Regions from separate parts of the Homo sapiens genome. Here all the other regions are linked to region 3. Evidence: promoter capture Hi-C in human tissues and cell types (Jung and others, 2019). All regions are on one chromosome and are shown on one strand. The core of a region is centred on a gene start or on the middle of the fragment in contact, and the rest is flanking DNA. Distances in the headings are between cores, read along the strand shown. Region 1 overlaps LOC105375993 (a long non-coding RNA gene). Region 2 overlaps ELAVL2 (ELAV like RNA binding protein 2). Region 3 holds the start of ELAVL2 (ELAV like RNA binding protein 2).

Region 1 (2,700 bases), core at 40-2,539, 40 kb after region 3:
CTCTTGTAAGGCAGGCCTGGTGGTGACAAAATCTCTCAGCATTTGCTTGTCTGTAAAGGATTTTATTTCTCCTTTGCTTATGAAGATTAGTTTGGCTGGATATGAAATTTTGGGTTGAAAATTCATTTTTTTAAGATTGTTGAATGTTGGCCCCCACTCACTTCTGGCTTGTAGGGTTTCTGCAGAGAGATCCGCCGTTAGTCTGATGGGCTTCATTTTGTGGGTAACCAGACCTTTCTTTCTGGCTGCCCTTAACATTTTTTCCTTCATTTCAACCTTGGTGAATCTGACAATTATGTGTCTTGGGGTTGCTGTTCTCAAGGAGTATCTTTGTGGTGTTCTCTGTATTTCCTGAATTTGAATGTTGGCCTGTTTTGCTGGGTTGGGGAAATTCTCCTGGATAATATCCTGAAGAGTGTTTTCCACCTTGGTTCCATTCTCCCCATCACTTTCAGGTACACCAATCAAACGCAGGTTTGGTCTTTTCACATAGTCCCATATTTCTTGGAGGTTTTGTTCATTGTTTTTATTCTTTTTTCTCTAATCTTGTCTTCACGCTTTATTTCATTAACTTAATCTACAGTCTCTGATATCCTTTCTTCCACTTGATCGATTTGCCTATTGATACTTGGGTATGCTTCACGAAGTTCTCATGCTTTCTTTTTCAGCTCCATCAGGTCATTTATGTTCTTCTCTAAACTGGTTATTCTAGTTAGCAATTAGTCTAACCTTTTATCAAGGTGCTTAGCTTCCTTACATTGGGTTATAACAAGCTGCTTTAGCTCAAAGGAGTTTGTTATTACCCACCTTCTGAAGCCTATTTCTGTCAGTTCATCAAACTCATTCTCCATCCAGTTTTGTTCCCTTCCTGGCAAGAAATTGTGATCCTTTGGAGAAGAGGCAGTCTGGTTTTTGGAATTTTCAGCCTTTTTGCACTGGTTTTTCCTCATCTTCGTGAATTTATCTACCTTTGGTCTTTGATGTTGGTGACCTTTGGATGGGGTTTTTGTGTGGACGTCCTTTTCGTTGATGTTGATGATATCACTTTCTGTGGGTTTTCCTTTTAACAGTCACGCCCCTCTGCTGTAGGTCTGCTGGAGTTTGCTGGAGGTCCACTTCAGACCCCGTTTGCCTGGGTATCACCAGTGGAGGCTGCAGAACAGCAAAGATTGCTGCCTGTTCCTTCCTCGGGAAGTTTTGTCCCAGAGGGGCACCTGCCAGATGCCAGCCAGAGTTCTCCTATATGAGTTGTCTGTCAACCCCTGCTGGGAGGTGTCTCCCAGTCAGGGGGCATGGGGGTCAGGGACCCACTTGAGGGGGCAGTCTCTCCCTTAGCAGAGCTCAAGTGCTTTGCTGAAAGATCCGCTGCTCTCTTCAGAGCTGCAGGCAGGAACATGTAAGTCTGCTAAAGTTGCGTCCACAGCCGCCCGTTCCCCCAGGTGCTCTGTCCCAGGGAGATGGGAGTTTTATCTGTAAGCCCCTGACTGAGGCTGCTGCGTTTCTGTCAGAGATACCCTGCCCAGAGAGGAGGAATCTAGAGAGGCAGTCTGACTACAGCAGATTTGCAGAGCGGCGGTGGGCTCAGCCCAGTTTCAACTTCCCAGTGACTTTGTTTACGCTGTGAGGGGAAAACTGCCTACTCAAGCCTTAGTAATGGTGGACACCCTTACCCCCATCAAGCTCCAGCATCTCCAGTCAATTTTAGACTGCTGTGCTGGGTAAACGAATTTTAAGCCAGTGGATCTTAGCTTGCTGGGCTCCATGGGGGTGGGATCCGCTGAGCTAGACCACTTGGTTCCCTGTATTCAGCCCCCTCTGCATGGCAGTGAAGGGTTGTGTCATTGGCATTCCAGGCACCACTGGGGTATGAAAAAAAAACTCCTGCAGCTAGCTCAGTGTCTGCCCAAACAGCCGCCCAATTTTTTCCTTGAAACCCAGTACCCTGTTGGTGTAGGCACCTGAGGGAATCTCCTGGTCTGTGGGTTGTGAAGGCTATGGGGAAAGTATAGTATGTGGGCCAGAATGCACCATTCCTCACGGCACAGTCCCTCATGGCTTCCCATGGCTAGCCAGTTCCCTGACCCCCTGTGCTTCACAGGTGAGGCAATGCCCCACCCTGCTTTGGCTTACCCTCTGTGGGCTACACTCACTGTCTAACCAGTCCCAATGAGATGAGCCGGGTTCCTCAGTTGGAACTGCAGAAATCACCTGCCTTCTGCATTGATATGGCTGGGAGCTGCAGACTGGAACTATTCCTATTCAGCCATCTTGCCATAGAATTCTGTGGTTTCTATGAAGCAAAGCTACCCAGAAGGAGCAGTAAGGTGTTGACAGGGAACAAGTGGCCCAAGACAGCAACTTTAAGTTTTTCCTAAGCGATACCCTGTATTTATGCACATCCAGAAACATGGTCCAAGGAGGAACACTGTGCCTCGTTTTAACCTTTACTGTATTGTCTATTGCTGATCTAACAAACTACCATAAACTTTCTGGCTTAAAACAATACAATTCAGCAACACAAAGTTTTGAAGGCCAGAAATTCAAATTTGGTCTTACTAGGCTAAGAGTCTTCTGTTAACAATAGAGAAGAATCTGTTTCCTTGCCTTTTCCAGCTTCTAGAGGGCAGTCGCATTCCTTGGCTTCTGGCCCCTTTTCATCTTCAACACCAGAAGTGGCAGGTTGAATCTTTCTTATATTGC
Region 2 (2,700 bases), core at 53-2,552, 36 kb before region 3:
TAAGTCGAGAACTTTCACCTTTTTACTTAAAGGGAACATGGAGCACTTTAACATCCTCTCTTTGGCATGTCAGAACTGCCAGCATCACTACTCTTGTGCTTTGGGGCCGCTGAAAGTAAAAGAAGGGCTACTTGAACACGAGCAGTGCAATACCTCGAAAGTCAATCTTATAACTGAGATGGCTATACTAAGGGACTAACAGCATGGATACACTAGACAAAGGGAGGATTCACATCCTGACTGGTCAGCATGAGGGTACATCACACTATTCAGAAGTACACGCAGTGTAAAACTTGTGAATTGTTTATGCCTGGAATTTTCCATTTAATATTTGTGAACCACAGTTGACTGCAGGTAACGGAAATCATGGAAAGCGAAACTGTGGGTAAGGAGGAACTACTGCCATCCAAGCAAAAGAAAAGAGACCAACGGCTTCTGTATTCTTATAGAGGGCAGTGTAAGAATATAGTCCCCCAATTTTTTCCTTCTTACCATTACAACTTTAGATGGCCTTGTTAAAGACTCAGTAAATGGGGAATAGAAGTTTGGCCTGCTTATTCAGTTCCTATTAGTCCCTATATAGAGGGACTGCTTATTCAGTCCCTATACAGAGGGTCAGTGACCCTCTATATCAGTCTAGGCCAGTGCCCAGACACTAGACGCAGCCACAAGAAATGCAAGTTTTCCTAAATGGTAAGGTGGAATGTATGTCCCCTAACCCTACTGAAGTGACCGTCATTTCACAAATAGTGAATTTATATATTAAGTGATTTATTAAATTTATGCTACATACAAAATTACGTATTAAAATGCATATGTGTCCTCAACTGAATTCTTGAGGCATAGTATTGAGGAAACAGTTCAAAATAGTAATACAATTCGGTAAAACTTTTAATTATTTCTCAAAAGAATCCACACAACTTAAAATCTGACACCTGCTGAATGATAAAGCTTGGTCATCTGCACAACTTCCTATTCAACTTTCATTTTCACAAACCTTATTTTGTCTTAAGATGATTTCCACGCACTCAGCAGGGTAATCTTTTAGCTAAATGATCCGAAACCCACAATCTGAATGGCAAGAAATTGCTTCCTAAATAATGTATCGTATTATACAAGCTATCACATATCTCCCTTCCCCAGAAAAGTAAATAAACATTCTTAAAGACAGCCCAGAGGAAAACAGTATGGTTGCAAAACAGTTAGCTTCTTATATCTTTCAAGACTTTACTAAATGTCACTTATAAATGAGAAAACATATTTGAAGTTTTTAAGTGTTCTATGCTTTTTAAACCCTTTCCTGAATGTATACAGGTAGGACACTCAGAGGTAAGGTAAGGGGTAACCATGTTCCTAAATTACATTAATTTCTAATGCCTGAAACCAAAGTTTTCAAAGGGCTATAAATGCTTGAATAATCCATTAAGATACACAAAATGACAGGTTGATGGTAAAAAAGGGGAAAAAAAAAAAACAACCTTTCAACAAATGACAAATTTTCTCCTAAATCATTCTTTGGTTAGAGGACCAATGTAAAAGAGGCAGGTCCGAGTGCTGTTTTGTACTGGAAACAAAACAGATGTAACAGGTGTAATGAATACCAGAGAGAGATGAGACAGAAAATCTTGAAATTAAACTTCTGTGGTAGAAAAAAAGAGAGGGAATACAAAAATATATGGAAATGCCTGGTTGGATGAAAGGAGAGTAGATATTCTAACCAAACCATTTAAATCCACATTATTAGACACCCCAATACCCGCTTTCCCAGTCTGTGACTGCACAGGTAAAGCCAAAATATATTTTCTGCTTTGGAATAGATTTTCTACTTAGGATTAGTTACAGGCATATCGGCTGCTCTGGGAATTCACTTTCAAATATAATGAGGCCACACTAAAAACTTGAAGGAAGTGAAATAGTATCCTTCATCTCATCTGTCACCATAAAGCTCAACGTAAAGAAAGCTAAAAGGCTCACTGCAGTCCCTCAAGAAAAAGTTAAAGGTTTGACTCTCTGCTGATTACCTTGAATAGACAGCCAAATTAGGCTGGAGCAAATAACTATAAACTGACTATCTAATGTAACTAGGCATTAGCCATTCATCCCAGAGCTTTAATTTTATGTTTTATATATTACGGTTCCCCTGGTGATTTTCCGCATACCTCATTAAGTTCTGACTTGAGGATGTCTGCTCTGGACGAGCACACAGAGCAACACAACACAAAACATCCTAAACCTCACATCTCTTAGTATTTCCAACACAAACATCGCAGGTCTCCTGATGAACACTTAACCTCTACATGTTCTCTAAGTACAGAGTGCCTAGAGTCTCAGAGCTGCACAGACACCAGCAGACATTCTGTGAAAACACTGCCAAGACCCTCTTGACATCTGTGGCAAAAACATCCTGTCTTCTAAATATATGTTCTGTTTAAGTGGCTTTTAAAGCATAAGCATGGTGCCTTTAAAAGCAGTTTGTAACAAGAGGTCAAACTATAAAACTGAAGAGGTTAGAGAAGAAATCAATTGTATATCAATTGTCAAAACTCAACTTTAAAAGGCAGAGGTGGTCACAAACTACTGTACAGACAGGGTAAATGGAAAAGAAATCTCCAGGTTGAAAACGGCAAATGCTAATCGCAGGGGTGGGAGCAAGGAGTCTTGACCAATCGTAAAGATGAGAAAGCATTTCCCTTCTGGAAT
Region 3 (2,700 bases), core at 33-2,532:
TAGGACCAAGGACAGGGCTTGGAATCCACTTCCCAGCGCCCAGCACAGCGAGGCTCCCAAGCAGCCGGCACTTCATAGACACAGCTCCAAGGATCTTATTTACGCTTTTCTGAACAAAGGGAATCTCATATCCGGTACAGGCTTAAGAATTCAGCCCCAAATTGGCTATCTTCTTTTAAAACTGAATTATGATAATTGGAGTCCGTGAATCAGAGCCCGCATACAATGATGAGTTCTGACAGCTTCTAACAACCCTAGCCTCAGCCCAGCCCCAGCCCCAGCCCTCAGGCGGCATGTACTTTTTTCAGTCAACTACAACTCGCTGCCTGGTGCAGCATCTAAATTCCATCTGGCAATCCCATCTCCCCAGCACATGCTATCTGGTTAATGCAATTAAGCCTGTGGTTTTCGCTGGTCTAATCTGCCAGTCCAGGCTTCTGATTCCCCTTAATGATTGTAAAGCCTCTCCCGTCCTTCCGTTGCTGAGCCAAAGTAGAGGCATGCATCCCCAACACCCAAGTTATCACTCTCTCCCCACGAAATGAACTTCCGATCTCAATCTTGAAGCTCACTCCACATCTAACCTCCCATTGTACCCCTACTCCCCCCTGGCCACATTTACCACTTAAGTTTCTGCCATGGACATTTACGAATATTCAGTACGCTAAGCATGCGTCCACCGTCTTTTAGTCTAGCTCTTTAAAATTAAAAAAGCAGAACAGTAGCTTTGAAATGAGACAAACATGTGCAATTAACTTCATATTCTGTATTCCGCTCACTTACAGGTTTTCTGGGTTTGCCAGCGCATCGCTGCAACTAATGATTAAAGAAACCAAACCGAAACTTACCTTTCTCCCTTAAGGTTTTTGTGTATGTGTGTTTTTAAAGTAACGGTGCAGTTCTCCCAATAAGGATGAGCAAGAAGCTGCTGGATAGTTCTCTTAAGACAGCACGAAACCTAAACTGTGCTCGGCTTAAAAGAAGCAAATAAAAAGAAACGCTTTCGACCCCAAAGTCCAATGCTAAAAGAAATGGCGAAAAAAAATATGAAAGGGGAGGGGAAACTTAAAAAAGAGTTTAAAAAGACGGAGAGACTACCCTCCTATTGCCGTTCAACTAAACAAAAAGGGGCAAGAAAAACAAACCAAGGAACAAAGAAAAGAGACGAAAGAACGTTTTTTCAAAAAGACGATGTCTTTCTCCTTGTTGCTTTTTAGTAGGTCGCTACAGGAGTAAGCTGCTGCATCTCTAACTAAGAACAGAAATAGGGGGGAGGACGTCTTAAAAGGGAGGTGGACTGGACCACAGATTTATAGCACCGTATCACCAACCCCTTCTCTGCCTCCGCACTGCCGTGTGTGCAGCTGCTCTGCCAGGCTCCTATCCCGGGCAGCACGCGCGGAAGTATACGCCGAATCGCGCCACAACGTAACTTGCTCATCGCCCCAGGATCCTGATTGGTCCACACGCTTCCATTGAGGCCGCCCAGGCGGGGCCGCGTGAGACGATTGGCTATGGGCTTGTGTCACTCTCGAGAGCTCAATGGAGTCCCGTTTCAAGGTAAGTTGTGCGGGGAGGTACACTCTTAACACTGGCGGCGAAGGGAAATGCAAGAAGCAAAAAGAAATGTGGAGAGAGCAACGTGGGAGGGTTGGAACTGTACTATCAGAGTTTGCGATATGGCACGATCTCCTTTCCTCTTAAATCTTTCTGCTTCAGAAAGATTCATTTCCTTTGCCATCACTGCTGCATCTGTGGCATATTTCTTTATAACATTTAACTCTGTCCGGTATGTATGAGTCATTGAGAGCTCCCTCTCTTTGATCTGAGTGAAAGGGATGAATGTACATCCATTATTTGCCCGCATGCCTTTTTTCGATTTGTGTTCAGTACTGTATTTTGTATTAGATGTTAGGTAATTGTATGTCTTTATTTTAATATACGCATATTTCAGATTTATGTGTCCCCATGAACCCCTTTTTAAAGCATCCTTTTAAGATAAAGATGAAGTCAGAAATGCTCTCAAATAAAGCTGCACGGTTTGAATTGGCTTTCACTTCATGTTAGAATAGAAAAGTGTAGGATAAATATCCTATCCAGAAAAAGAGGTATTGAGTAGAGCTAAGGTCCTTCACTTCGAGGTGTCTAATGATTCTCAAAAAGAGCAGCTGTATATAAAACTGGAACAAGCCACTCCTCTGCATTTGCAGACAGGTACAGTCCTTGGACCACACATGTATTGCTGACAGCAAAGATAGTTGAACCTTTATCAGGGCTCTTTCTGTGAGGATTTAAGAAGTTTAACCAGAAGACCAAGTGCTATCAATGCTTCTGCTTCATAGAGGAAGACTACTTTATTACAACCCCATATTTTAACAGCATTCAGGAGACCAAAATACAGTTTTATGCATGATAATTGTTTCTTCCTCTAAGTGAAAGTGAGGTCCTCAGGATCGTCTGGATGTATAAGTAGACACAATATTCATTTGACCTACGTTCTTTTCCAGCCAGCATTTCTCTTTTCAATCTTGAAAGATAGCACCAACTTCCTAGACAGTTTTTACCATTCTTACCAGAATGTGTAAATGTAATGTACACATTACATTACACATGTAATGTGTCTTAACCAGAGGCACATGCCTTTTTGAAAGGGATTCCTTTACATATTTACAACTAGTCGCTATCTTTGAGAATGCCGGA

Evidence for each region. The method cuts DNA at HindIII sites, captures the fragments that hold promoters and counts their contacts. A contact is called where the count stands out against the background at its distance.
Region 1: a contact is called between a fragment that was not itself captured here and the fragment with the promoter of ELAVL2 in region 3, in 1 of the 25 tissues and cell types used here (mesenchymal stem cells).
Region 2: a contact is called between a fragment that was not itself captured here and the fragment with the promoter of ELAVL2 in region 3, in 1 of the 25 tissues and cell types used here (pancreas).

The regions. Positions count from the first base shown.
Region 1 is chr9:23,864,782-23,867,481 of GRCh38, forward strand. The region is part of intron 2 of LOC105375993 (a long non-coding RNA gene); the gene reads left to right. Among named protein-coding and RNA genes, the nearest start is that of ELAVL2, 40 kb to the left of the region's middle. The HindIII fragment of the contact is 9,543 bases long and covers 1-2,700 here.
Region 2 is chr9:23,788,607-23,791,306 of GRCh38, forward strand. All of the region lies in intron 1 of ELAVL2 (ELAV like RNA binding protein 2), which reads right to left. Among named protein-coding and RNA genes, the nearest start is that of ELAVL2, 36 kb to the right of the region's middle. The HindIII fragment of the contact is 3,613 bases long and covers 1-2,700 here.
Region 3 is chr9:23,824,958-23,827,657 of GRCh38, forward strand. It overlaps ELAVL2 (ELAV like RNA binding protein 2), which reads right to left and starts at 1,283. Exons shown (of 7, transcript NM_004432.5): 1 at 849-1,283. LOC105375992 (a long non-coding RNA gene) reads left to right here and starts at 1,471. Exons shown (of 3, transcript XR_929519.3): 1 at 1,471-1,560. The HindIII fragment of the contact is 12,029 bases long and covers 1-2,700 here.